7 separate regions of the Homo sapiens genome follow, and all the other regions are linked to region 2. The links are contacts of gene promoters, found by promoter capture Hi-C in blood cells and fetal thymus (Javierre and others, 2016). All regions are on one chromosome and are shown on one strand. The core of a region is centred on a gene start or on the middle of the fragment in contact, and the rest is flanking DNA. Distances in the headings are between cores, read along the strand shown. Region 1 overlaps SH3RF3 (SH3 domain containing ring finger 3). Region 2 holds the start of EDAR (ectodysplasin A receptor). Region 3 overlaps SH3RF3 (SH3 domain containing ring finger 3). Region 4 overlaps SH3RF3 (SH3 domain containing ring finger 3). Region 5 overlaps SH3RF3 (SH3 domain containing ring finger 3). Region 6 overlaps SH3RF3 (SH3 domain containing ring finger 3). Region 7 overlaps SH3RF3 (SH3 domain containing ring finger 3).

Evidence for each region. The method cuts DNA at HindIII sites, captures the fragments that hold promoters and counts their contacts. A CHiCAGO score of 5 or more calls a contact.
Region 1: a contact is called between a fragment that was not itself captured here and the fragment with the promoter of EDAR in region 2, in 5 of 17 cell types (total CD8 T cells, naive CD8 T cells, M2 macrophages and 2 more). The highest score is 7.3, in total CD8 T cells.
Region 3: a contact is called between a fragment that was not itself captured here and the fragment with the promoter of EDAR in region 2, in 5 of 17 cell types (total CD8 T cells, non-activated CD4 T cells, M1 macrophages and 2 more). The highest score is 6.8, in total CD8 T cells.
Region 4: a contact is called between a fragment that was not itself captured here and the fragment with the promoter of EDAR in region 2, in 1 of 17 cell types (non-activated CD4 T cells). The highest score is 6.4, in non-activated CD4 T cells.
Region 5: a contact is called between a fragment that was not itself captured here and the fragment with the promoter of EDAR in region 2, in 8 of 17 cell types (non-activated CD4 T cells, M1 macrophages, total CD4 T cells and 5 more). The highest score is 9.9, in non-activated CD4 T cells.
Region 6: a fragment that was not itself captured here is called in contact with the fragment with the promoter of EDAR in region 2 in 4 of 17 cell types (non-activated CD4 T cells, naive CD8 T cells, total CD8 T cells and 1 more); the score reaches 9.3 in non-activated CD4 T cells.
Region 7: a fragment that was not itself captured here is called in contact with the fragment with the promoter of EDAR in region 2 in 2 of 17 cell types (M0 macrophages and non-activated CD4 T cells); the score reaches 5.5 in M0 macrophages.

Annotation. Positions count from the first base shown.
Region 1 is chr2:109,470,586-109,474,557 of GRCh38, reverse strand. The region is part of intron 8 of SH3RF3 (SH3 domain containing ring finger 3); the gene reads right to left. It also overlaps a transcript of RANBP2 not described here. Among named protein-coding and RNA genes, the nearest start is that of SEPTIN10, 140 kb to the left of the region's middle. RefSeq lists an enhancer at 3,693-3,812. The HindIII fragment of the contact is 4,424 bases long and covers 409-3,972 here.
Region 2 is chr2:108,987,225-108,991,453 of GRCh38, reverse strand. EDAR (ectodysplasin A receptor) reads left to right here and starts at 2,234. Exons shown (of 12, transcript NM_022336.4): 1 at 2,234-2,494. It also overlaps a transcript of RANBP2 not described here. RefSeq lists an enhancer at 3,260-3,761. The HindIII fragment of the contact is 677 bases long and covers 1,950-2,626 here.
Region 3 is chr2:109,437,495-109,441,174 of GRCh38, reverse strand. All of the region lies in intron 7 of SH3RF3 (SH3 domain containing ring finger 3), which reads right to left. It also overlaps a transcript of RANBP2 not described here. Among named protein-coding and RNA genes, the nearest start is that of MIR4266, 130 kb to the right of the region's middle. The HindIII fragment of the contact is 2,643 bases long and covers 68-2,710 here.
Region 4 is chr2:109,357,066-109,360,978 of GRCh38, reverse strand. All of the region lies in intron 2 of SH3RF3 (SH3 domain containing ring finger 3), which reads right to left. It also overlaps a transcript of RANBP2 not described here. Among named protein-coding and RNA genes, the nearest start is that of MIR4266, 45 kb to the right of the region's middle. The HindIII fragment of the contact is 2,669 bases long and covers 1-2,592 here.
Region 5 is chr2:109,487,094-109,491,238 of GRCh38, reverse strand. It overlaps SH3RF3 (SH3 domain containing ring finger 3), which reads right to left. Exons shown (of 10, transcript NM_001099289.3): 9 at 303-634. It also overlaps a transcript of RANBP2 not described here. Among named protein-coding and RNA genes, the nearest start is that of SEPTIN10, 120 kb to the left of the region's middle. The HindIII fragment of the contact is 2,700 bases long and covers 610-3,309 here.
Region 6 is chr2:109,338,837-109,342,460 of GRCh38, reverse strand. The region is part of intron 1 of SH3RF3 (SH3 domain containing ring finger 3); the gene reads right to left. It also overlaps a transcript of RANBP2 not described here. Among named protein-coding and RNA genes, the nearest start is that of MIR4266, 27 kb to the right of the region's middle. The HindIII fragment of the contact is 3,553 bases long and covers 574-3,624 here.
Region 7 is chr2:109,411,773-109,415,919 of GRCh38, reverse strand. The region is part of intron 4 of SH3RF3 (SH3 domain containing ring finger 3); the gene reads right to left. It also overlaps a transcript of RANBP2 not described here. Among named protein-coding and RNA genes, the nearest start is that of MIR4266, 100 kb to the right of the region's middle. RefSeq lists enhancers at 1-184, 185-798. The HindIII fragment of the contact is 8,736 bases long and covers 1-4,147 here.

The DNA of each region.
Region 1 (3,972 bases), core at 1,371-3,870, 480 kb before region 2:
CCCGTGCGGTTCGGACTGTAATCCCAGCCTCAGGCCAACTGAGGGCCTCCCACTGCTGCCGCCTGTCCCCAGGGATCATGGCCTGCTCTGGACCACCTAGGTTCCCATCAGTAGCGAGCTGCATCCACAGTGGAAACAGCCCCTCCTTCTCTGTTAGGGGGAGAGCTTTGTTAGACGCAGCTAGCTCACACTTACAGCCCAAATGGCTCACAGAAACCCACAGGGGTTTCTCCTCTCAAACAGCCTGACACATAACTAACTGTCCGGCTCAAAACTTCAGCTCTTTCTCCCACTGCTAAAAGGACTGCTGCAGACAAATGTGCCCACACCCACCTCCCTAGAGAGCCACTGCATGGCTTACACCTGCCCACACACAGGTGTGTGCTCTTACGCAGGTGCGGCCAAGCTTCCCTGGCCACCTGCGTCTTCTGAACACCTGCCACCTTCCTCAGCCCGGCCCAGACTGTGCATCAAATGGAAGCCACGAACCCCCAAACCAAAGGTGAGGAGGCCACACAGAGGCACAGAAAGTCTCCAGCATCAAAGCCCCTGTCATAACCTCATTGGCCTCCAGCACCTTCCAGGACAGAGTCTATAAAGACTTTCTGCCCCTGTGGGAGGGCAGCATTACCCTAGGGGTAATGACAGCACTGCTGATGATCAAGGGGCACAAGGAGAGCGGTTCAGGGGCACAAGGAGAGCGGTTCAGGGACACCCCAAAAAAGAGACAGCCTGCGGCTAAGGTGCTGGCTGTGCACGGGGGGCTCAGAGGCCTCTCAGGCTCAGTGTTACAGGGGAGGAGGTAGCCTGAGGCAGGCAGGAGTGGGTGGGGTGGGTGGGTGGCTGAGTGAGCTGGGCACGGCAGCAGGACATGGCACGCTGCTTCCTCCCTCCACCTAGGACACATATGCTCCCTCATCCCTCCCCCTTGAACCTTGTTTGTGCTTTAGGTCCCATTCAGAAACCATCTTCTTTGAATCCCAGATGAGCAGTTACAGAGGGTTTATTTCTCTCTCCTCTCTGTCGCTCTAACCCTGGCATGGCTCTGTTGCTCAGGCCTTCTTTATCACCTATATCTGCTATTTTACATCCCCCACAGCCTCCCCAAATAAAATAGGGGCTCAGACCTCATTGTATTTGTCCCAATTTGGTGCCAAATGCTGATGGGGGCCTCAGAGCACGCCCTATTCTGAACACGATGTCAACTTGTGCTTGGTAACCAGCCACAAGCCCAGGCACAGCTGCCCATGGCCAAGAGGCTCTGGCTCTGCAGGGCCCAACCCCAGCTCCAGGCTCCCAGTGGTGCCCAGGCGTCGAATGGGGCCAGCCCAGGCCTGTGTGAGGCGCTCGTATGTCTAGGCAGGAAGCCGCTTCCCTGGGAAAATCCATCACAGAGCTTTGCAAGAGTTAACTTGAGTTAATGCTGTTAAATGAGGGGCGATTAAATGCCAGGCTGTCAGTTCTCTTTAGATTCTTGGGACTCGCATCTGAAAGGCTGCAACACCATGTGACCCTGTCTCCTTGCCATCTCAGCCAACACATTATCTTTTCACTAAGGTAGGAAAGGCCCCACGAGTCGGGTAGAATTTATAGCACCACATTCATTCATTTAAAATTGCTTCAAAGGAGATTAGGCCAAAGGTAGGACAGACAGAAATAAGAGGCTGGAGCAGGGCTGTCTGCCCTGGGATATGTCTGAGTGTGTCACGACCCTGTCCATTAGGATAACTTTGCTGTGTGTTGGATTTCCAACGGGCGTCTGGCTGGCTTTCTGTAGGACAAATACAACACAGCCATAAATTATTAGATCAAATGGAATGCATTCAGATGAAATCTCTGTAAAATCTGGCCTCCTTCTGAAGGATGTCTGGAATGAAACAGGAAAAATTAAACACACTATTATTTAGTCAGGTATGGCAAGCTCACTTCCTGAATTTTGTTTTTAAATGAAACAGATGGATGGAAATCACTTCATCCAACCAGAAGGCAGCCGCAGGTCGGTTCATCAATTGGATCGGGGTTTCTGAGGCAGCAACCGTAAATCAAAGCTCTTCTTTCCACAAGTCCTTCCTGATGGCTGCCAGCTTGCCAAGCCCTGACGGGAAGCCCCGTCGGGAAGCCCCGCAAGCTCTGCAGGATGGTTTGGATTTCCTCTTTCTGTGCTTCTTAAGGAAGATTGCTTCCAGGACACCCTGCATGCACACCGGCCCGAGACCACCGAGAGTGCAGGTGAGGAGGGCCCGGGAGGCCCCTGGCCGGGTCCTCTCCTGCCACCGTCTTCCTGGAGCAGCCCAGACCCTGGCCAGGTGGCACCTCCCTGAATAAGTGCCCTGATTTGGGCTTTTATCCCTATCTAATTTTTAACTGGGGACTGCTCCTACATTTCTATAAGGAGCTGCTACCATGAGGTCACAGGTGGTTGTTAATCATATTAACTAATTAATAATAATTAACAATCTAATTAATAATTAGAAAAGGATGGGAATTTGAAAGAAGCTGAGATGTCAGAATCCAGGTGCACACTGTGCTACAGGGCCACACAGTGCAGGGGGCCCAGGACTCTGCTTCTCCCTGAATTGGCAATATAACCATGGAGGAAAATGGCCTGCTTCAGACCAAGTTACATGAACTGCTGTTCACACAGCCCCTGCCTTCTAGAGAACTGCCAGGCATCTGCTCTCCCTGTGTCTGCATAGTCTCAGCAAATAGAGTGTGGAAAAAGTTTAACAAGACGTGCCCCATGCAAAAAGGCAGGACAAGCTATCCAGGACTGTGCATTAGTCTATCTCCTATGGCTAAGCTCTTGGGACCGTCTTATTAGGTATGTGAGGCTGAGACAGCAAGGGGGTGAGTGGAAAAGAAAGAGACTTAGACCCCGCCCCAGCATGTGTCCTGGAGCAGGTGGCTTGGACAGCAACCTCCTCACCCATGGAATACAACAGTGTCTGGGCCTACATGAGCTGTTCCAATGATGAATTTTGCCACTGACTGATATGGTTTGGCTCTGTGTCCCCACTCAAATCTCATCTAGAATTGTAATCCCCATGTGTCAAAGAGGGACCTGGAGGGAGGGGACTAGATCACGGGGGCAGTTTCTCCCATGCTGTTCTTGTGATAGTGAGTGAGTTCTCATGAGATCCAATGGTTTTATGAGGATTCTTCCCCCTTCACTTTCTCTTCTCTCTCCTGCCGCCTTGTGAAGAAGGTGCTTGCTTCCCCTTTGCCTTCCGCCATGATTGTAAGTTTCCTGTGGCACCCCCAGCTGAAACTGAGAGTCAATCAAACCTCTTTCCTTTATACATTACTCAGTCTCAGGTATTAATTTCTTTTTTTTTTTTTTTTTTTTTTTTTGAGACAGAGTCTGTCGCCCAGGCTGGAGTGCAATGGCACGATCTCGGCTCATTGCAAACTCTGCCCCCTGGGTTCAAGTGATTCTCAGCCTCCCAAGTAGCTGGGATTAGAGGCACCTGCCAACACACCCAACTAATTTTTGTGTTTTTAGTGGAGATGGGGTTTCACCATGTTGGCTGGGCTGGTCTCGAACTCCTGACCTCAAGTGATCTGCCCTCCTCGGCCTCTCAAAGTGCTGGGATTACAGGCGTGAGCCACCGCACCCAGCCTAGTCTCTGGTATTTCTTTACAGCAGTGTGAAAATTGACTAATACACTGACTCTGCCTCAGGCAACAGAAGAGATTTCTTATCATGAGGAAGAAGGAATGAAATGTCAGCACCCTTTGTTTGCTGTGAGCTGACTTCCCTGCAAAGGGTCTCTCTAAGCTGTGGCCTGTGGAACAGGGGTGGCTGAGCCGAGGCCTCTACTTCCTGCACATCTGCACCTCTGGCTCTGCTATTTCTGTGATGACCCATCCTCCACCAGCCCCGGCCACAGCAGTTTCTAGGCACCCCATGCGTGGCACTGTCAGAGCCAGTCCAGGGAGCTTGGTGTAACTGCCTGTCCTCCTCCAGACTGC
Region 2 (4,229 bases), core at 985-3,484:
AGGAGACCCCCTTCACCCAACCATGTTCTGCAGTCTTGATTCATTTTCTTACTTAAAAAATGCTATTGATAACCTGTTGCTATTTCTGCCTCAGTCTCTTAGGAAATGTATAAAACAGAAAATCACATATCTTCAAAGCTCTGGAGCTTTACATGATGAAGATAAGCAATGATTTCTCATTTCATTCTTTCTCTTAATCAACTGAATTAATTATATACTCATTTTCATTTGGATATGATGACTAGGCAGACTTCAAGTATAACCATCCATAACCTTGCTTAATGCCATGATGTTTGGATTTTTTTCAAAGAGAGGAAAAAACTCCCTTGGCTTCTATTACAGCATCCATATTTTGTGCCATTTTAATTTTTTCTTGTGTCTTTTTTCTCTCTCTTTGGGAAATATCAGTATCATTCCTTTTGGTAAATTTTAAATCACCACTTAATTTCCAATAGAAAAAATGTTTTAGTTACACCTAAAATAATCCCAAACCTCAAACACACTGTGAGCACACCAGAAAGTAAAAATTATATGGAGTAGAACAGATTAGCCCAGAATACCTCCCATTCATTTTCCCAGGTTCCTAATTTAATAATTTCAGTGACTTTAATTTATCACAGACCCTCAGTCTGAACTCGGCATGAGCAGGGTAGACAACCAAACCTGAAAATTCAAGTTAAAATTCTTGTTTGGGAGCTTATATTATCTAGATTAATCATCCACAAGGATCAAGTCAGCTAAGTAACTCTGGTTCAGCTTAATCTCTGTGGAGGCAGAATTAGTCCTTTACAGTCTAGGTCCTTGCCCCAGCCCCATACATTTCTGTCTGCTTTTTTCTTTTCTTTTCTTTTCTGTTTTGAGACAGATTCTCGCTCTGTTGCCCAGGCTGGAGTGCAGTGGCACAATCTCGGCTCACTGCAACTTCCATCTCCTGGGTTCGAACAATTCTCCTGCTTTAGCCTCCACACATGCCACCACCGGCTAATTTTTGTATATTTTTTTTTTTTTTTTTTTTTGAGACGGAGTCTCGCTCTGTCACCCAGGCCGGACTGCGGACTGCAGTGGCGCAATCTCGGCTCACTGCAAGCTCCGCTTCCCGGGTTCACGCCATTCTCCTGCCTCAGCCTCCCGAGTAGCTGGGACTACAGGCGCCCGCCACCACGCCCGGCTAATTTTTTGTATTTTTAGTAGAGACGGGGTTTCACCTTGTTAGCCAGGATGGTCTCGATCTCCTGACCTCATGATCCACCCGCCTCGGCCTCCCAAAGTGCTGGGATTACAGGCGTGAGCCACCGCGCCCGGCCTAATTTTTGTATTTTTAGTAGGGACGGAGTTTCACCATGTTGGCCAGGCTGATCCCAAACTCCTGACCTCAAGTGATCTGCCCGCCTCAGCCTCCAAAGTGCTGGGGTTACAGGTGTGAGCCACGGAGCCCAGACTGTTTCTTTCTTAAGCTCTTACTTTCTCATGTGTGAGTTACCTTGTAGGTTTCCAAGGCAGAGGGGACAAGATGGAAAAGGAGAACACAGAAATCTAGCCTGGAGGAGCTGCTCTGTTCCTGTATTTATCTGTGTAGGTGTGAATGAGGGAGAAAATGACAAGAGAATGACATTATTTTAAGGCTGTTTTCCCCCCCCCAATCATTTACTTTTTGAGAAATAATTGCCCAATACTGAAAGGTATGTCCTTTCAAAATGTTGATGTTTCAAATGGCTTCCTAATTACCTAGTTATACGGGGGGTGTGTATGGTTATCTGAAGTTACATGGGTATACACTGGTGGTGTGAGGTGTCCAGAGAGAGGAAAGGAAGAGCAGTCCTGGTGGCTCAAACCCTGAGGGATGTGCGGGGGATGGGTGAGAATGTGAACAGACATGTTGGAAGCTGAATCCGTGCAGTGGCACCCATGCCTGTAGCCATCTCAGTGGGGGGTCCTTCTACGAACAAGCTTTGATTAATGATATTTTAATGCTAGTTTAGCTTTTTAGCACTCCCACGCCTAAAGGCTCTGATAGAAGCAAGGCCCCCACCCCTGCAAAAAAAAAAATCCATGATTTTTACGCATTCCAACAGATCTCTTAAGGGGCAGACGGCCGGAGAGCCAGGTGTGCCAGGGACCTATGGCAGCAGGGCTGAACGTGCCCGCTCCAGCCTCTCCAGTGCTGGGAGAGACCTCTAGATGGTGCAGGTGAGTTTGCAATGAGGGAAAGCCCCTCGGCAAGGACTGAGTTTCCAAACTTGCAGACAGGGCAGGGAGCGGTCAAGGAAGAGTTCCCGGGAAGCCCTTTAAACGGAAAGGAAGCGGGGCTAGTGTCAGAGAGGTGTGCCAGGTCCCAGGCAGCCCTGCTGGCCCCTAAGGACATAGAGTACCTGCTTCTGAGAGGGCTGCCACGGTGGCCACCTGTGAAGCCTGTCACCCAGAACTGGATGGTACCTGACTTTCTTCATAGACCCATCTTCTGCTGGGACTGAAGCTGACCTCCAACAGAAGCCAGGTAAGCCCTGGTCCTTTCCTCTGGTTTTCTAAACTCTTCAGCTGTGGCCGAGACGGAGGTGTCATGGGCTGGGAGAGAGGCTGGGTGCATTTTTGAAATGCATGTCATTTTTGGGTTGCGTTTGAACAAGCTTTACCGATTGCAGTATGTCTGCGCTACCAGTTCTAAGACCTGAGATTGTTCCTTTGTTTTAGAAAAACATCAGAAACCCTGTTTTGCTGTTGGTTGCACATTTGGTTAGGGAGACAAATTCTGTGTGTGCTTCACAGGCTTTAAGATTTGGGCTACTGAAGCAACGGGTTCCTCCAGGGAGCGTGAAAAGTATGTTTCTCAGGTTTGCCCCTGTGCCCGGCTCACTGGGGAAGGCAGGCGCGGCAGGGACTCTAGCTGGGCTCTGTACCTGCCTCCAACTCTGCGTACCCGCTGTGACCTAAGAGACCTTCCAAGTGGGGTTTCCAGTCGTGTCTGAGACCCCCCATATCCTGGCCTCTGTGTTGGTGGCGGGGGAGCGGGGAGAGGGAGAGAAGGAGGGGAGTGGGTACCTATTTGTGATGATTGAGGTTTTCATTTCCAGCCAAGAGGTTCCTCTCAACACTCTGACAGACCGTGGGGTGGGTTGGGCTCCTAGACAGGAGTCGGCTCTGATTCAGTCGGCTCTGATTCCCAGCCTCCTGCAGCAGCCAAGCTTTGAGATGTCAGCTCAGGGAGAAGCGGGTGGCTGGGCAGGGAGGTCAGCAGGCGAGGTTCCCACTGGGTTTCCCTGCCCATGTTGTGCTGGGTCAGCAACAAGAGGGACAGTTAAAATCAACAAGCAGGGCAGATGCCGGTCAGTGGGCAATCCCACACAGCCAGGGGTACACGCATGTGAGGAGACGTACGGAGAGACAGGAGCACCACCGTCCTCTTCCCCAGTCCCCAGGCCACTGCTCTGTGGCTCTCAAGTGGCATTTTTGAGACACTTTCTAAGCAAGAGTGAAAGTGTAACAAAGAAGTGAAGAGCCATAATAGACTGAAGGAAAAAAGGGATCCAGGCATCTAAAATAGAGAATGTTTCTTGCCTGGCTTAATACTCTGAGATTTGTAAGTCATAGCCACTTAAAACCTTTAAAGATACATTTTGACAGAGGCCACCAAAAAGAGAGTGACTCTGGTCAAGGCTTGGAAATAAGCGTTCGTTCCGATGACAGTCCACGTGTACCCTTCACGGCTGGGAAAGTTTGGCGATCCTGGTGGCGATTGGCCGGGGGTCTCCACTGTACCCCTCCCCATCCCTAAGTGGGCCAGGCTGTGCTGTGGGAGGATTAATTTGTGACAGCACAGTTGGAGGATAATCTTGGAAGGACCAGTCTTTGGGAGGAAAAAGTAAATACACTTTCCCTGAAATGCTTGATTTTCACTCCCTGGCCACTACCTGGTTTCTTGCTTTTGTGAGCTGGACTTTCATTTTGTTGGGCATACACATTTGTGAAGCACAGACATGTCAGGGGCTCATCTTTGTTTCTCAGGCATCATGGTACCCTCTTGCCTAGCCCAGTGCCTGCCATTGGGCGGCAGCCCAACATTGCTCCGGAGTGCAGACAGACCTGGTCTTACCCCATCTCACGGAGCGCAAAACCTACTTGCCTCTGTTAAATGGGGAGCCTCTTCTAGTCAAAGTTCCTCAGGTCTCATAGGCCCACAGATGGAAGCTGGGTTACCTGACGCTCCTTTCTGGGTCCAAGTGAGTGCGTTTTGT
Region 3 (3,680 bases), core at 140-2,639, 450 kb before region 2:
GTGATTTTTATGTTGTTGAGAGCTGGAATTTTTTTTTTTTTTGTATTCCTATAAATATTCTTAAGCTTTGTTCTGGGACAAAGATAAATTAATCAGAAATAGTTTGACTCTTGAGTGTTGTTTTTGAGCTCTGTTGGGTGAAATTGGAACAGTGCTCAGTCTGACCACTACAGAGGCAAGGTCCTGTGTAGATTACTCAATGCCTGGTGATTTCTGCAATTTTTCCGTCTGGCTGGTGGGAACAGGCACTATTTCCAGCTGGTGTGTATTCTGGGCACTGTTAGCACTAATCCTTTCTTTCTTTGATTCTTTTCCTGGCTTTGGGTACGTTTCTCATGTTCATATGCAGATGAGTTGTCACCTGAAGATCTCAGGGCGTGCTCTGCAGCCTCTCTGTGCTGTTCTCTCCTCTCTGGTCACTGCCCTGGAAACTCAAGCCCTCTCTGTCACACAAACTCTGATCTCCACATCCTCGGGGCTCCTCCACCTGGTTACCTGCCTCCTTTTGCCACTGCCTGCAACTTCTCTCATGAATCAGTCCTTGGTTGTCTGGTGTCTTGAAAACTGTTGTTTTATATACTTGGCTTTTTAAATTTGTTTCATGTGGGAGAGTAATTCCTGTCCTCATCACTTCAGATTGGCCATAAGCAGAAGTCTAGCTCAATCTTTTAAATACAAAAATATGACTATGTCTATTATTCAACACCCTTTGATGTGCCCCCTTAGGATAAACATCTAAATTCCTTACGTGGTCTAGAAGAACCTCCATGCTCTGCTCTGCTTAGCTTTTCGGCTTCACTGCGGGTCTTTCTTTGCTCCCGCACCCTATCCGTATTCCAGCGTCCATGGGCCCCTGGCCTCGGCGGCCCAAGAGCTCCCCATGCTTCCCCTTCCTGAGTGCTTCCCACACTCTCCTACTGCTGCATGCTGAGCTCTACCCACCTTTCAGATTTAAAGGACAGTATGCCTCTGCAGGGAACTGTCATCTACACACTGGACTTCTCCTTCTTCCATAGCTTTGCTTCAGTCATGTCACAACTAAATAAAGTTCCCCAAAACAAGAGTTATGCTATTCCTCATTGCCAGGCCATTGCTCATGCTGGTTCCTCTGCTCTGAACCTCCTTTCTCTTTTGTCTGCTCAGACACTTCCTATTTGTCCTTTAAGATTCAAGGCATTATCACCTCCTCTTGAAAACTTTCCATATGCCCTACTCCCAATCCCCCTCCTATTTTCCTCCCCAGTCGGAATGAATTCCCTCCTCCACACTCTCTTAATACCTAAGCAGGCCTCTTTTGCAGCCCTTTAGCAAACCCACCACAGAACTTTGTTTTCTAGTCATTCTCTCTAACCGGGGTGGAAATGGGGCTTGTCTGGTTTTCCTCTGTTTCCAGACCCCTGCAGGGTGCCTTGCCTGTATCTAGCTCCTTCTCGGTGCTTTTTTGCTGATGAATTCATGGCTATGCTGGGCTCTTACTCCTGCTAAGCACAGACAGGAGTGTGCAAGGAACACTGGCACTTTACAGGGGGTGCTCTGCCTTTGGGAAAGGAGTTACATTAATCAAGTAGAACAAATCATATTGGATGCTATGGCCAATGCAATTAAGCCTTTGTCAAACTGCCTGACTTTGGCTCGAGATGAGAACATTGATGAAATGCCTCCCACCCATCGGGGTTGGGGTCTGCTGAAATGGGCAATTACTGCAGGGAACAATCCATTACTTGGACTGTCAACAGTGTTTTTTCTCTCTCTAAATGCAGAATGAAGTGGAAAATGCCGCAGGAACTCAGTGGCATTTAATTTACTGATATGGCTCAGTAGGAGTCATTCTTTAACCTGGCTGTGACAGCAATAGCGTGGGGACAAGTGCTGGGCTGGGATGCACTGGGGAGCCGTTTAACCATCCCGTGCCTCACTCTCCCCGTGTGTAACATTAAACTGATGGAAGAGAATGCTCGTGGCACCCTCATGGTTACTATGGTGATGGAGGACTGAGACACAATGTTGCACTGCCCCACAGCCTTGCCAATTTCTTTTGATCCTGCTTGTTATTCCACAGAGGGAGAAGTGACTGGCAGGGCTCCATTTCTTCTTTGAATTGGGAACGTTTCTAGCAAGGCTTGGTGTGGAAAGACCATTATACTGGCTATTCTGGGCAGACAACCCAGGGCCACTGCACTGGGATGCTGACTCACCGTGATGAGTGGGGCCACTCACCCTTTCTAGTGCTGGTGCATGTGGAAACATTTGTACAGAACACCGGGCTGATTGGATGAGATGTTTATAACCAGAAGGGACCTGGCCTGGGACTTTTGCTCCCCTGGTCCTGCCTGGGTGCTCCAGTGGCCAAACAGATCAGCATATTGGCTGCCTCTGACCAGTCAGGGAGCACAACTTCAGATCACCAGATCACTTGCCAACTGCAATGACTGTATCCCCAGCTAGAGGCTACCAGAAAACACAGATCCACGTAAACCATGCTGAAGGACGGCTGATCAGAAGGTCATGGGTTGCAGGGTGGGCTTGGGCACCAGGTAATATTGCTGCAGATTCTTTCCCAGGGCCCTGGAGCCAGGGGTGTGAAAACCAAGAATCATTCTTAGCTGATTTAAGTAAAAAAGATACTAGTAGAGACTTACAGAATCTGAGATGGCAGAGTAGGTCTTGAAGGCTCTGACACCAGGGTAGTCCTCAGACCACCCATGAAGCTTTCCTAGTGCTAAATTACCCACTGCTTGACAGGTACACCACCAGCACAAGGCTGAACACTGGGCACCTGAAGTCCACCTGCACCCACTGATGGTGCCAGACATTGGGCACCCAAAGTTCACCCTATACCTGCTGATGGTGCCAGACACCAGGCACTCAAAGTCCACCTGCACCCAGTGACGATGCTGGGCACTGGATACCTGAAGTCTACCCTGCACCCACTTGGGTGGGCAAGTGGATGACAGACACTTACCTCCCACCCCTTGTCCCATCAGCTAAGATAAGGAAGGAAATATGGCCTCTGCTGACCTAAGTGTTGTCTCCTCTTTCCACACTTGAGAAGCTGCTTTCTGGACACTTCTAATGGGTCATCGTGTTCGTTAGTCTAAGAAATAGTATATTTTATTGCTTCCATGAATTTACATTATTTTTGCCCTTTAAGCCTCACTTTGAGAAAAACAGATGATTTCTGAGAGGACAGGGTTGGGGTGGGAAGAGAGATTCTGTGTTATCCCCTCTTGTCCTGGGGTACTTGGCATCATGTCAGCATCACTGGCTCCACCGTGGTGGAAGACGCCGTGGCATGGGCTCCCAGATCATCCTGCGAATCCAGCATCAGCAGTTCTTATTAGCTCAACACTAAGCCACCAACCAAGATGTGCTTACCTTCTTTATGCCTTTAAGGCCCACCCCATAATTTCTTTTCATCTCACAACATCCTGGGGCCAAACCGGTTTTCCTTAAGTTTCTCCAGCTGCCATGAAGGCGAAGGATCAACAGCTGTCATTCCTCCTGCCTCAGAGCACTTCAGAAAGGGAAGAGCCTGGGCCCGAGTCTCACCCCAGCCCTGTCCTGTGAGATGCCGCCTAGCTGGGAAGCCCTGCAGGGCCCGGCAGATGGAAGACCCACGTGGCCGGCCCACAATCATTCATGGGGGAGGCATTTGAAAGTGCCGGTGTTAATCTTATTAG
Region 4 (3,913 bases), core at 9-2,508, 370 kb before region 2:
AAAGAACATCTACAAATAACCTACAGTTCACCTAATTACGAGAAACTTAATGGTGGGAAACTTTAAACTTTCCCACTAAGATCAAGGACAAGGCAAGAATGTACTCTCTGCCCCTGCTTTTTAACATCATACTAAAAATATTTGATAATACAATAAGACAAGAAAAGGAAATTAAAAGTGTACAGATTGGGAGGGAAGAAATAAAACTGCCTTTGTTTACAGATGACATGATCATCTATTTAGAAAATCTGAAAGAACCAACTGAAGAACTTCTAGAACTAATACTTGATTATAGCAAGGTTGCAGGATACAAGGCTAATATACAAAAGTCAATTGCTTTCCTATATACAGGCTGAGTATCTTTTATTTGAAATGCTTGAGACCAAAAGTGTTTTGGACTTCAGATGTTTTCAGATTTTGGAATATTTGCATATACATAATGAGATATCTTGGGTATGGGACCCCAGTCTAAACACAAAATTCATTTGTGTTTTATATATACCTTATACACACAACCTGAAGGTAATTTTATACAACATTTTAATAATTTTGTGCATGAAACAAAGTTTGTGTACATCGAGCCTACAAAAAGCAAAGGGTATCACCCATGCGGACCATCTGTGGTTGTTTGGCATCAGCCTCACTTCTGACTCTGGATTTATATGCTACCAATAAGCAATCATTTTCTTACAATTATTCACACATAAGTATTTAGCAGTAAAAAATATGACATATTATTAATACAGTGAAAAAAATTACATGTTCAGAGTAACTAAGCGGCACAGTAGCCTCTCCAGAATACCTGTATCAGCTGTTAAACAACAGCAACAACAAACAATGGCAGGCTTTCAGTCTCTACCTATGATGCTGTGCTTTGATTAAAAGGTAAGTGTATACTTTTTTTTTTTTTTTTTTGGTGCAAGGAAACATCAGAAGTGGTTAAGGGACCAGTAAGTGGGTCCTCTGTGGATGAGGAAACATTCTGCTGGATGGCTTTTAAAAATATTTTTCTGCAGTCATCTGCCTCATCAACAATGGTCATAGAAATCTCTCTTTTCACGTGGAGAACCTGCCATTGGCATGTGCAGCCTACACATGTGCCATTTTATGACCCTTTATGGTTGTGCTTGCATGGGGGAATCTGGGCATGTGTGGAAAATAAATATCACAGCTGAAGGGGCCTGGGAGGGTCTTTTTTCCCTTGAGGATGCTGAAGAAACTGTGTGTTGTGTGCCTTCATTTTGACTACAACCCATTACATAAGGTCAGGTGTGGAATATTCCACTTGCAGCATCATGTTGGTGCTCAAAAAATTTTGGATTTTGGAGCATTCTGGATTTCAAGTTTCCAGATTAGTGATGCTCAACCTGTACCAGGAATGGACAAATGAAATTTAAGTTAAAACATGATACAATTTACATTAGGTATAAATGTAAATGGTATCATGAAATACTTAGGTACAAATGAAATACTTAAGTATAAGTGTAACAAAATATGTGCAAGATGTATATAGGGAAAATTAAAAATCTCAGATGAAAGAAATCAAAGGAGAACTAAACAAATAGATATTTCATGTTCATGGATAGGAAGACTCAATATTGTCAAGATGTCAGTTCTTTTCAACTTGTTGTATAGATTTAACACAATCTCAATCAAAGTATCAGCAAGTTCTTTTGTGAATATTGACCAACTGATTCTAAAGTTTATATGGAGAGGCAAGAGACCTAGAAGAGCCAACAAATATTGAAGGAGAAGAACAAGGGCCAACACTACATGACTTCGAGACTGAAAATAAAGTTACAATAATGAAGACAGTCTGTCATTGGCAATGCAATAGACAACTAGATCAATGGAATGGAAGAGAGCACCCAGAAATAAACCCACATAAATACAGTCAGCTGATCTTTGACAAAGGAACAAAGACAATACAATGGAGAAAAGATAGTTTTTAAAATAAACAGTGGTAGGAAAACTAGACATCCACATGCAAAAAATCTAGAAATAAACATTCCACCCCTCACAAAAATGAACTCAATATAGATCACAGACCTAAATGTAAAATATAAAACTACAAAACTCCTAGAAGATAATGTAGGAGAAAATCTAGATGATCTTGGGTTTGGCAATGACTTTTTGGATATAGCACCAAAAGCATGATCCACAAAAGAAAGAATTGATAAGTTAGACTTCATTAAAATTAGTAATTTGTACTCTGCAAAAGATACTGTCAAGGTAATGAGAAGACACGCTACAGACTGGGAGAAAATATTATCAAAAGACAACTATGATAAAGGATTATTATGCAAAATACACAAAAAACTCTTAAAACTCAACAACAAGAAAACAGTCTGATTGAATGGTGAGTCAAAGACCTTCACCAAAGAAGACACTTCACCAAAGAAGACAGTGTAGTGTGTAGTGTGTTGATGAGGATGTGGAGCAACAGGAACGCTCATTCACGGCTGGCAGAAATGCAAAATGGCCCAGCAACTTTGGAACACAGTTTGGAAATTTCTTACAAAACTAGGCATGCTTTTACCATGCAAACTAGTAATCACACTCCTTAGTATTTATCCAAAGGAGCTGAAAGCTTATGTCCACACAAAAACCTGCATATGGATGTTTAGAGTGGCTTTATTTATAATTACCCAAACATGGAAGTAACCAAGATGTCGTTTAGTAGGTGAATGGATAAACAAACTGTGGTACATCCAGATAATGGCATATTACTCAATGATAAAAAAGGAAATGAGCTATTAAGCTATGAAAAGACATGGAAGGACCTTAAATGCAAATTGCTAAGTGAAGGCAACCATTACGAAAAGGCTACATATTGTATGATTTCAACCGTATGACGTTCTGGGAAAGGAAAAACTATGAAGACAGTACAAAGGTCAGTGGTTGCCAGGGGTGGTGGAGGAGGGAGGGATGGATAGACAGGTCAGAGGATTTTCAGGGCAGTGAACCTACTTTGTATGGGCCTATAATGGTAGATACATGACATCTCCATCAGTAGACTCTGCACCAAGAGTGACTATAGGCTTAGAGTAATAACGATTTGTCAATATAGGCTCATTGATTGTAACAAATGCACTAACTCTGGTGAGTGATGTTGACAATGCAGGAGGCTTTGCATGTAGGGGCAGAGGTTTATGGGAAATCTCTGTATCTTCTGCTCAATTTTGCTGTGAACTTACAACGGCTCTAAAAATATAACACCTATTTTTTAAAAATCTAAAATAGCACCACAGAGCAATGAAAATGAGCAAACTACAGTGCCCTACAACAACATGGGTATAGCTCACAAATATAAAACTGAGAGAAAACAAAGTTGGACACAAAAATAAATCCTGCGTGATTCCTTGATGTGAAGGTCAAGAGCAAACACAACTCATCTGTAGTGTTAGTAGACATGCGGGAAGGGCGGGCTGGTAACTGTCAGAGGCACAGGAGCCCCAGTATCCATCATTTCATCACTAGGTAAGAATATATTCTGTTGGCCGGGTGCGGTGGCTCACGCCTGTAATCCCAGCACTTTGGGAGGCCGAGGTGGGTGGATCACGAGGTCAGGAGATCGAGACCATCCTGGCTAACACGGTGAAACCTCGTCTCTACTAAAAATACACAAAATTATCCGGGCATGGTGGTGGGTGCCTGTAGTCCCAGCTACTCGGGAGGCTGAGGCAGGAGAATGGCATGAGCCTGGGAGGCGGAGCTTGCAGCAAGCCGAGATCGTGCCACTGCACTCCAGCCTGGGCGACAGAGTAAGACTCCGTCTCAAAAAAAAAACCAAAAAACAAAAAACAAGAATATATTGTTTGTGATAATCATCAAGCTGCATAATTATGATTAGTGAACTTTCTGATATGTTATGTATAAGTATTAAATATATATTATATATAACATAATAAAA
Region 5 (4,145 bases), core at 710-3,209, 500 kb before region 2:
GCCTAGTCTCCCACTATTTGCACTCAGAAACACTTGGTCCTGACACATTTCCTGATGGCTCCTTTGCAATCCCAAACTCAGGAATCAGATGGATGCAGAACATGAAATAACACTCCAGTTCCCAGACTCGTTTCATCCAGCACTCACCACCCAAGCTCGGGACCATGTGGATCTGGGTGTTGAGGTACATCTGGTAAACCTAATCCCAGCAAGGCCACAGTGTCCCTGCTCCCCGAAGGTGGCTCCAGACCTCAGAGGCCAAACCACAGCATGCCACAGAGCAGACAAGCCCCTGCACTTACCTCTCTCTGGGCAACAGCTTGGGCTCGGGGCGGATGGCAGCCATGGACAGCGGAGCTTGCCGGGAAGGAGATGTGAAGTTTAGATCCAAGGAGCCTGCCTTCCTGTGCAGAGGCTCCATCCCCATGGCACCCTGCATCTCGCTCTCTATGGGGCAGGACCCTGCCCTGCCGTGGATGGACAGTGAGGACACTTCGGGGCCCACTGCACCTTGGAGCAGGGCGTCCACGGCCACCTGGGGGTCGTGGGTTGGAGACACAGATGGCGGGGAGCGTGACTTCTTCTTGGTGGATGCTCCGGCTAGAAGCTTCAGGAGCCCACTCTTCTTCTCTTTCTGGGGAGACACACAAGATGGAAACCAAACAGGTGAATGCTTCCCAATGCCCTTGCTGTCAGAGAGAGGGGAATGCATCTTCCTATGTGGAACTTTATTTTTAAATTTCTTATTTTTTCAGACAAAAGACTTTACCACTCACAGCAACAGCAGTAGCCAGAGTACCAGCATTTTCTTGCACCAGTTCCCTGAACCCCAGTTCCCACGGGTGAACCAGTGAGGGCCAGGTGACGCTTGCAGGCACACCAGGCTGTGTTAAAGCAGAGGACCTGGAGCTTCGGGACACCAAATCCTCTCTACTGGACTGTGAGGATGCTGGCCCTCTGCTCCGGAGTCAAGCAGTAAGCATGCCTGCTCTTTGCTTTGAAGACTGACATTATTTCTATTTTCCAAGGCTGGTGCCTACATGGACATCTTGAAAAGATAGGCCAGCAGATGGCATCTCAGTTGTAAGATGGGTAGAAGGGTGAGAGACCCATGGAGAATGGTTCCATCAGGAAACTTTAAAGATAACCTTGTAAAGTGGCTCAGAGGAGGAAAACAAAGCTAAGACCAAGAGCTCATCCAGGCTGGGCACGGTGGCTCATGCCTGTAATCTCAGCAATTTGGGAGGCCAAGGTGGGCAGATCACTTGAGGTCAGGAGTTCGAGACCAGCCTGGCCAACATGGTGAAACCCTGTCTCTACTAAAAATACAAAAATTAGCTGAGTGTGGTGGCACTTGCCTGTAATCCCAGATACTCAGGAGCCTGAGGTGGGAGAATAGCTTGAACCCAGGAGGTGGAGGTTGCAGTGAGCTGAGATTGCGCCACTGCACTCCAGCCTGGGTGACAGAGCGAGACTCCGTCCCCCCCGCCCACCCCCCGCCAAAAAAAACCTTGTCCGACACTTGTTTTCCTTTCTCTTCCAAAATCTAGCAGAAATGTCCAAAATAGGCCCCGAGGCCCCCAGGGCAGGCCAGTGATGCCATTCTCAGAGAAGGATGCTGCTGACGGGCCATCCCCGACAACACAGCCCTCTCTGTCACGGGACCCTGGCCAAGCCTGGCAACGTCATTGTCTGTGTAGAGGAACCAGCAGTCAATGTCATCTGCTTTCTCCTCCCCCAGCTCTTCTAAGTGGACTTTGTAGGACAGGTGACACGGTTCCTGATGGGACTTTCCGTGAGGCCCAAGCCACGCTGGGGTCTGGTTGTCTAAGAGCACAACTGCTCCGGCCCCAGCCAAGTCCCCCCAGGCCACATGCCTGGATTGTTGTTGCAGCTGTACCAGGGTCTGGGGGCCTGTGGCTGTGGGATACTGCTTAGTGCCCGGTGAAGGGTCTCCACCCGATAAGGTGTCTAAAGGGACCATCCCCATCACCCTTGGTGACCAGCATTTGTTCCACTGTATTCATTAATCCCACTGCATTCAGAGCCTGTGCCCCAGGCACTGCTGCTTATGCAATAGAGAGGGAAAGAGATATAATGAAGGTGTGCCCTGGGCAAGTGTGGATCCCAGCCTCCAACTCCACTGCCTGAGTCTCGGCCTTCGCTCCCCACTTTTCTCAATGTGTTTCCTCCAAGGCTGGACTCATCCTGGAGGTCAGCTGTTCCTGCTTTCAGGCTCTGTACTGACAGTCCATGGGGAGTTCTGGGTGATTTCAGGAGGAAGAGGCGGCCCAGCTCTGAGCCATGCAGCACGGGGATCCAGATACCTGACTCCGCTACTGGGCTTGCAGCCTCCCGGCCTATCTCCCCTCTGCCTCACTCTCCCTCCAATAACTTCCTGAAGGTCTTGTGCACCGTGCCAGGCCCTGGAGGTTGTGAGCAATAGGAAACAGCCTAGAGCAATCAGTTAGACATGGATTTCGTTGCAGCCCTTCATGTGCTGGCAGCTCAAAGTGTGGTGTTTCCCGAGTCTAGTTCTCAGAGAACTCTTGTTGGCGGCACAACTTGAGGGAGAGTGTTCCCAGGAACACACATCGGGAACTGCTTGGGTAGAAACTAGAAAGGAAAAGAAGAAACCGTGAGGGGTCGGGGGCAGAACCCTGGGATCTGAGTGGGGTGCCTGGGGGCAGGGAGTGAGGAGGCTTGTTCAGGCCACGATGTAGGCAGGGCATAAGGCCTGGGGATGGGAGACCCTGCAGCTGGGCCCGTCAGCCCCTCCGCAGGCCAGGAAGGAAAGAACTGCAGTACCTGGGGTGGGAACTGGCTCCCCAGGAGGCCTGAACCCACAGCAAGAGTTCTTGATGAGAGGGTGACCTTGCCTCCAGGGGACAGGTGGCAATGTCTGAAGACATCTGGGCTGTCACAACTCAGGGGTGCTGCTGGCATCTGGTGGGCAGATCCCAGGGATGTTGGTAAACATACTCCAATGCAAGGGAACCCCCCATGGCAGGGTTATCTGGCCTCAAATGTCATCAGTGCTAAGGCTGGGATCCCTAGGTCACAAGGACAGCAGGCCAGGATGCGGGGACAGAAGCCAGGCCTGCCCCAGGTGTCCCGGCGGAGCCCACTCTGCAGGCTCTGGGGCTGCTGGCCGCTCCTCCCCTCCTGGCAGGCAGGAGACCTGGGTGGCCTTGCGTTGTCCAAAGGAAAAGGAATTAGCCTTTCTCTGCCCACTTCTGTTTCCTCTTCACCATGAAGGGGCCTGGTGGCTGTTCATCCCCGTCTAGGCTCCCCTCTAGAATCAAAGCTTTGGAAGTACAGGGGTCGTGTTTGTTTTGTTCACTGCAGTATCCCCACCAGCGCCTAGCACGGTGCTGAGAACACAACAGGCATTCAACACTTGTTTGCTGAATGAACTGAGTCCAGCTGAGGGCTCTTGGGCCCGTCGGGGAGAGCCCTTCTGGCCCCTGAGTAGAGAGGGACTCGGTGGGCAGATTCTTGCTCCCAGGGCACCTTGGGCCCTGTGGGCCTGGACGTGGGGTATGGTGGAGCTGGAGACGCTGAGGCCCTGCTGCCTCACTGCCCAGCTGCTGAGAGTATATGCAGTCAGGCCCAACCTTAGCTGTCTGCTTTGGAAAGGGTGGGGTGCGTAAATGTGATGGATAATTTTCCTGTCTCAATTCTCCAGGATTAAATAAACTAAACACTTAATTAACTTGGAAAAACGCTGATGTCATGGCTAGAAAACCCTCTCCAAAACGTCCGCCTTCCAGGACAGAATTCTGCTAATGCCTTAAGCATCAGTTATTACCAATCGCTGTGGAATTCCCAGTACTAACAATCGTCATGCTCACGGAATCCATGGAATATGGAGGTAGACGGTCTAGGCACTTCCCTGGTGGTCGTCCCGTGTGAGGCAGGAAAGAATAGCCAATGGACAGTTGGCATGTACTCGGGGAGAGGCTCATAGACTGATTTGGGGGACAACACCGTGGGAGGAGAAGAGGTTTTAGAGGACACAATTTAGGGCTGATCTGGGCTGAAAGATTATGTTAAGGAAAGATGGATTTGCTGGGTTTCTCCTGGGACTGGGAGTAAGCAAGCAATGTTCAGGAGCCCAGTGGGATGTGGATTTGGCATCCCTG
Region 6 (3,624 bases), core at 1,101-3,600, 350 kb before region 2:
ACAATTAGCCCATCAGGACAGATTCTCGCCTGTTTTGCTCACTGTTGGATGCTCCGCTGCTGGCCTGACACAGATCATACGCTCCATATATCTACTGAACGAATGAACACACAGACTAGCAAACCAGTCCCCTGGGACTGGGGCCTTGGCTCACAGCCTCTATTTGGCCCATTATTTTTCCCAAAATATGAGATTCACAGTCCATGTTGCCCAAGATCCTATTGCTAATAGCAGCTGGGCCTGGCGGAATGGGGAAAATCCCAGGTATGGCTGATGAGAAGTGGGGCATTCCAGCCAGGGGCTCAGCCCATGCAAAGGCCCAGAGTTATAGATGGACACAGAGTCTGCCCACCTGCAGTCTCCAGACCTGTATAGCACAGCATGTGGCCAGCAGAAAAGTGTCAGGAAGATGAACACATTCGTCCATAGGCCCCGGCGGGTGAGACCCTAATTGTATACACACCAAGCACTGCGGGGTCTGAGAATGGGTCAGAGACAGCTAATGACCCCTGATACCCACTTTCTGCTTCTTTTGTCTGTCAGAATATTCCAAATTTCAACTGAGATCAAGCTTCCAGCAGAAGCCTTCATTTTCCAGCCTTGCCTGCAGGCAGCCCTGGGTAGGTGTCCACATTTCTGTCCACAGAATGCAAGTGAAAGTGATTCCTGCACATTCTGGAGCATGTTTTATGATGACATGCATAAGGAAATCTGCCTTCCCACGGGCTGCATGGTAGACACAGTAGGGTGGGCCAGTTTTTCCATCAAATATTATGCCCAGAGCAAAGGGGGAAGAAACCTGGGTCTTGGGGTGACCTTGCAGAACACACCCCCATACCATGAAGTAAGAAAAAGGAAACTTGATCTTATCTGAGCCAACACATTTTGGGATCTCATTCACAGCTCAGCTTATATTCTGACTCACTCAGGAAGTCTCAGGTGTATTTACAATTTCTTTAGCTCGTAAGCATTTTTCAAGCCAAGGCACTGACTTTCATAGCACTGTTGAGGGTTATCATTTATGTGCTGTCATCTTTGAAAAGCACTTTCAACTCAGAGACTCTCAGATTTAGAAAAGGCACAACTCTTGGCCTTACCTTATTTTAAATAATGCATTTACCAGAGTGTATCCCATCTTCCACTTTATAGATTTAATCCGCGATGAAGAAGTTTGTTACTGTTATCACACTGCAACCAGAGGTTCCCAGGTTTTTGTTTTACAGATAATTATATTTCGAGTTCCTTTGTCCCTTTTTCTCATTCAAAGCTGCTTGTTGGGTCCAAACTTTTTGTTTTGTCCCCTCTTTTCTTCTGTCAGTTTCTTCCTTTCCCATATTTGCACACTCATTCATCCAAGAATTGATGAAGAATTGATGAAATAAGACAAAGGATGAAAACACGACTTGCCCTTCAAACACAGGGTGACGAGGCCACTACTAAGCTGTTGCGTGGATGCAACTGTGAAGACATAAATTGTCTACAGCTAAGAGCTGCCTGTAGCATTTTCATGTTGCAGCCAGATTGGAGAGGATTTAAAAGCAAATTTTTTTTTTCTTCCTTTTTTTACTTTTCCCAGACTTTGTTGTGGCCTGTTTCCCTGTTGCATCAAAGCAGCGGTTAGGTCATCTGTGGTGGCCTTAGAATGCACCTTTTGACAAAGTACCTTGGGCTTAGTTTTCCCATAAAGCAGAGATAATCAAATCTGCCCTTCCGTGCTTCTTAGTATGCTGAGAATAAAACTGATGATACGAAAAGAGCTTTGTGTCTCTTAATGAAAAAGGAGCTATAAAAACAATGATCATTGACTACTTGCTGAGGCAAACAGATGTTCCAGGACCCTGGGTGCCGGGGCCAGGAAAGGCAGATGCTTCTAAGTGTAGGAAGTGGTCAGTGGTGATCCCTCCTCATGCACTGCAGCAAAAGTCAGATGGGAGAACTGAGGACCGCCCCTCCAGCATCTGCCCATATTCACTGAATAAGTGAATTCAGCAAAGAACCAATGCATGGTCCTTGGGTGTAAACCTTCTCTCACCCTCAGGGTTGAGGTATGTGCTTCTCTGGGTTCCAGCAGTACTGGGGCTCTCATCCAGACCTTGCCCCTTCCTGTCCTGAGCACCTCCTGTGTGCCTGCTGCTCCTACCTCTACCTGCGAGACCCACAGGATCCTTACAGCAACCCTGTGAGCTTGGCCTTATATTATCTGCACTTTACCGATAGGAAATTGGAGCACAGTGAGGTCCAGTAACTTGTCCAAGGTCCGAGAGACAGGACTGGATCCAGGTGGTCTGACCTCCCAACCTGTGCACTGCCAGCTACACACATCACCCCCTCAAAGTAACTCAGCCATTATTTAGCTGCTACTCCCCACCAGACACTCCCGATAACCCGATTACTGCTCACAGGACTCCTGTGAAATAAGAATTATAGTCCTTTTATAAGTGAGAAAAATGTAGCAAGGTGGGCAAATTCCTCAGCATCACAAAGCGTGTAACTGGGCAACCAGCTTCCAACCACCTGCCTCCTCCTCACTCCCCCAAAAGGCGAGGGAAGCCTCTGTGGAGCCCTGATAATTATCTGTTTAATTATGGAAGGGAAAGGGCAGCTGTGGGTCAGTCATCCGTTGGGCCAGGAGGGTCCAGATCTGTTTACATTTATCCAATTCAGAGATGCATTGCTCACTTCCTCACTTTCTGGGAAGAGATCCCATGCTGTGAGCTGGTATTTGCAGTGTTCCCAGGCATGTTCTGATAATGGGTACTTAGAGGAGTACTTGAGCAAGTCCCCAGCAGCCACCAGGCACCTTGAAAAGTGCTCCTTGATCCCTCCCAGGGAACAAAGGCCTCGCTACCGGCAACCCCTGCAGCCCCACCCAGGCACCCTCCAGGGCCTGAATCCAGCTGATGCCTGGTCGGCCCCATCTACCACCTTTCCACCGGCCTTTTGGGCAGCACACTCACGTGGGCCTCCTTTGTGGGTGGCCTCAGGTCAATGGGGCCTTGCACTGGGGACCTGGATCTCCAGCCACCGCAGAAGACCAAGAGGACAGGAGGGAAGAGAAGGAGGGGACTAAAGGCAGAGGATTCCTTGTAGGTCCTTATTTCAACCCAAACCAACCACCACATCATCTTACTATATATACATTTTTCATGTCATTACTTTCATGTTACCCCCCACCCCCCCAAAAAACAGCTGACCCTTGAACCAACATGGGTTTAAACTGCAAGGGTCTACTTATACGTGGATTTTTTTCAATAAAAGTTATACCGAGTGTGCCTCCCTTCTCTGCCTACCCGTCCACCTCCTCTACCTCTTCTCTGCCTGAGACAGCAAAGCCAACCCCTCCTCCTGTTCAGCCCACACAACGTGAAGATGATGAAGATGTAGACCTTTATGATGATCCACTTCCACTTAATGAGTAGTAAATACATTTTCTCTTCCTTACAATTTTTTAAATAACAATTTCTTTTCTCTAGCTCGCTTTATTCTAAGAACACAGTATATAATGTATAGTTCTCCCAAGATATGTGTTGATCAACTGTTTGTGTTATCAGTAAGGCTTCTGGTCAACAGTAAGCTCTTAGGAGTTGAGTTTGAGGGAGTCAAAAGTTACATGCAAGACTTGGC
Region 7 (4,147 bases), core at 1,123-3,622, 420 kb before region 2:
TTCAGCCTTGCCCTTGTGACCTAATTGCCTTTTAAAGGCCCCACCTCTCAGTGCTGCGCCTGGGGGATTAAATTTCAACATGAATTTCAGAGGGGACATTCAAGCCACAGCAGGGAGGTGGTGAGGGTGGGTGGTGGGCCTAGAGGAGCCCAGGCTGGCTAAGGTGGGAGGCCAGATGAAGTGACGGTTTGGAGGCAAAGGGGGCAGTATCCCCACGGGATGAGGACAGGCTGCGTGGGGCCTCCTGAGAGTGTTCTGGTCTTCAGTCTGAGGGCACGGCGTCCCTGGAGGACAGGCAGGGAGAAGGCAGCCACAGCCAGGACCTGCAGCTTTGCAGGGAACCCATCAGGAAGTGCGAGGGAGCCCAGCCTGCACCGGCAGAGGGCAAGGGAGTCAGGAGGGGGTCTGGACACGCTCAGGGGGCTGTTAGTAGGAATAGCAGCCGCGACTGTAGCACCCGTGATGGTAGCACTCGCCCTGTGCAGAGTCTACCATGGCTGGGCCCAGCTCTGAGCACTCCCCCTGGAACAATGCTTTCAACCTTCGCAAGCCTGCAGATGGGTATTTTGAACTCAGGCAGCCTGCTTATTATTTTGAACTCAGGCCACGTGCTTAGCCACCACACCGTGGTGTTAGTTCCTCACAGCTGCTGAAACAAACAGCCACAGACTCAGGGGCTTACAATCACTCAGAAGGTGTTGAAGTCAGAAGTTCTAAAATCAAGGTGTGGCAGGGCTGTGTTCCCTCTGGGAGTCTGGAGGAGACTCCAATTCCCTGCCTTTGCAGCTTCTAGAGGCTGCCCACGTTCCTTGGTCCCCTCCACTTTAAGGCAAGCAGTGCCACGTCTTCCTCTCTCTAGCCTCTGCTTCCACCACGCCATCCCCTTCCCTGACTCTGGCCTCTGCTTCCCTCTCGGGAGGGCCTTTGTGGCTGCGGTGGCCCAGGTGATCCAGGAGCATCTCCATCTCAGGGTCTTTTCCCGTTTGCCACATGAGGTGACACATTCTCAGGTTCTGGGATCAGCACTTGGACATGTGTGGGGGCCATCAGTCCCTTCTCCACCAACAAGATTAGGTCTGAAGGACGTTGAGGGAGGAGCATGGGCCGAGTTTCTAGCCTTGGCCAGATGGAAATGCTGCTGGAGAGACAGGAACAAGAGACCACAGAGGCCATGGGCTCAGTGCTGGACACGCAGTGTTTGGTGTGCCTGGAGATGTCTCAGTGTGGATGATGAGGGTGCTGGTAATGCCAATCAGGAGCTCAGAAGGGACTGGCCTGGGCAGCAGATCTGGGGTCATGTATGTATAGCTGATCTATGAGGCAATGCAGTCTTGTGGCAAAGCCCTTAGCTCCCAGGTGTGTGACCTGTGTTTGTGACCGTAGCCAAGATGGCGTCTGTGAGCCTCTGATTGCTCCTCGTGTCCATTGAGGGTCATGAACTTCTGCTCTGACCATGATGGTAACAGGGGCCAGGTTTACCCTCCTGCCTGAAAAAACTGAAAAACCAGATGAAACCTGAATCAATAGCTCCCAAGACTATAGAAATCAAGCAGTGGAGGACAGAGTCCCCAAGACATGAGAAGATGGGGTTGTGGCAGCTTGCATGGTCTAGACAGCTGGAGTATGAAGTCAGACAACCCACAGGCTATAAAGCAGTCACTCTAAGTACACAGAATAGGCCCTCAACAAAGGCTCGTGATCGTTGTCCTGAAGCCAACAGGGTAGACGGTGCAGTGGCCTGGGAGACAGTGAGGAGGGAGCATGCCCTGGCCCCATCTGCGGGACACCACCCAGAAGAGGGCCCTGAAGGAGGCCAAGATGGGGCAGCCCAATAAACAGAAGGAGACCCATAGCCCAGGGGAGATGGTGCTTCAGAGGGAATGTCATTGTCCATTGAGCTGCATGCTGTGGAATGGCCAAGGAAGCCAAGGACCTAGAAGGACCCACTGGTCTTGGGAATGCTGACATGCACAGGCGCTTCCTGGGGCAGGTGACTGCCCCTGCTGGACCACTGGTGGGGAGTTACACCTCTTGATCCCACTCATGGGATGCGGAAGACCCCAGTGTGCTCCCTGCAGGGAAAGCCCTCACTCCTGGCTTGGGCCAGTGGACCCACAGTCCCCTGGTTTCTGTCCCATTCTGCCATAGTTAGTAACAGAGAAGTCTGCAAACTCAGGTCCTACAAGGCATGGCCCTCATGACATGTCTATGCTGTGTGGAGGGCTGGTGGGGGCAGGCGTGCTGCCCCAGAGCACAGAATAGGGAGGGGAATGTGGGGGCCAGAGACGTTCTCATACAGCCCCAGGTCCTGGTGATTTGGGCTTGTAGACAAAGCTGTTCTCCATTCTAGAGCGGGAGAGACAGACAGGAAGACACAGAGACACAGAGAGAGACAGAGGTAGACAGACAGAGATAGAAAGAGACAGACAGACAGAGACAGGGCAGGAAAAAAAGCCTGTAGCCCCGGCAGTTTCCTGTTAAGAATGAATCCTAAAATAACCAGACAGGCCTGGGGTGGTGGCTCACGCCTGTAATCCCAGAACTTTGGGAGGCCAAGGCAAGCAGATCACCTGAGGTCAGGAGTTCGAGACCAGCCTGGCCAACATGGTGAAACCCTGTCTCTACTAAAATACAAAAATTAGCTGGGCATTGTGGCAAGCACCTGTAATCCCAGTTACTTGGGAGGCTCAGGCAGGAGAATCGTTTGAACCCATGAGGCGGAGGTTGCAGTGAGCTGAGATCACGCCACTGCACTCCAGCCTGGGCGACAGAGCAAGACTCTATCTCAAAAAATATATATATAAAATAATGATAATCAGACAAGTCAGAAAGGAGGTACAGGTAAGGATTTCGCAGCAGCACTGTTTATGATACGAAAAACCTGCACTCCTGAAGTTCCAGGGTGTGGGGCTGGCAGGCTGACAAGGACACAGAATGCCCCACTGCCGCCTGTGCCGTGGTCTCCATGGACAGGCCTGGAGGGCCATGTAGGGTATGCAGAGTGGAAATGGAGGTGACAGCATTGCATATGAAGGCTTATCTAATTTCTGACAGTGATACGTGTATTTTCATGGCAAGAAGTCAGGAAACTTACATACCAAACCATAACTTTGCTCCTTTGGGGAGTTGCCTTTTGGGATAATTTTATTATTTTTTAATCTACACTTTAATATCAAGTGACAATGGTTTCCTGAAACATTTCCACAGTGGTATGAGAAGAATAACAGAGTTAACACTTGAGGTCTGGCTGACGGTAAGCCCGTATCTTTCTCGATCCCCCATGTGCCATCTTTGTCAGGGGATCCTGGGAGCTGACAAAGGGCAGGGGTGACCCTGCAGCACCAGCAGGGGCTGGGCTGGCAGTTCTGTGCTCCCAGGCACTGGCACTCTGCTCTGCAGCAGCGGGAAGAGTGGGAACCTAAGATGATAGGCACGCACTGGTCCTGCTGTTGTTACCATGCCTGCTGTCCTGTTCAGATAAATGCTCCAGAAACAGCCAAGCTGTCCCAAACCAGCATAGCACAAGCAAAGCACAGCCAGAGCCACGCTGGGGCCACACTGGGAGGGTGGCCTGCCTGAAGCCTGCCCCGGCACTTGGATCTCCACCTCCCAATGTCCTGGAGCTGCTCAAGCCATACTCCAATGAAAGGGGGGCAATGTGTTTGGCCAGGAGAGACCAAGGAGACTGTGTTTTGTCTGCTGGGCAGAGGCTGAAGGCTAGGCTGAGAGTGCACACTGTGCGGAGCACACGCATCGTGGACCACGGCGGCCGAAGGCTCACCATCCCATCTGTGCCGGCATCCACCGACTGCCCTGCGTGAGTCCAACGTAAAGCAACCCACAGGGCTCGGTGTCAGGAGGCTCGGGAGGGCTCAGCCAAGGAACCTGAGGTGTGGACAGTGGGAGCTGCCACAGGGCCCATTCAGGGGTCTGGGGCCTTGGCCACCCTGACACAGGCTGTCCCTAAAGACAGCAGGAGGGAGACATTCTGCCGGCTTCACTGGAATCCTGGCCTTCAGCTGACACTTGATATGGCAAAAGCTCCAAGCAAATATGTGGGATTTAACAGTAAGCTATTACTTAGAGCTGGAATGAAGAGCAGAGAGAGGTCAGATGTGTGGAAATGCTTTTTCCCAAAGGTCAAGAT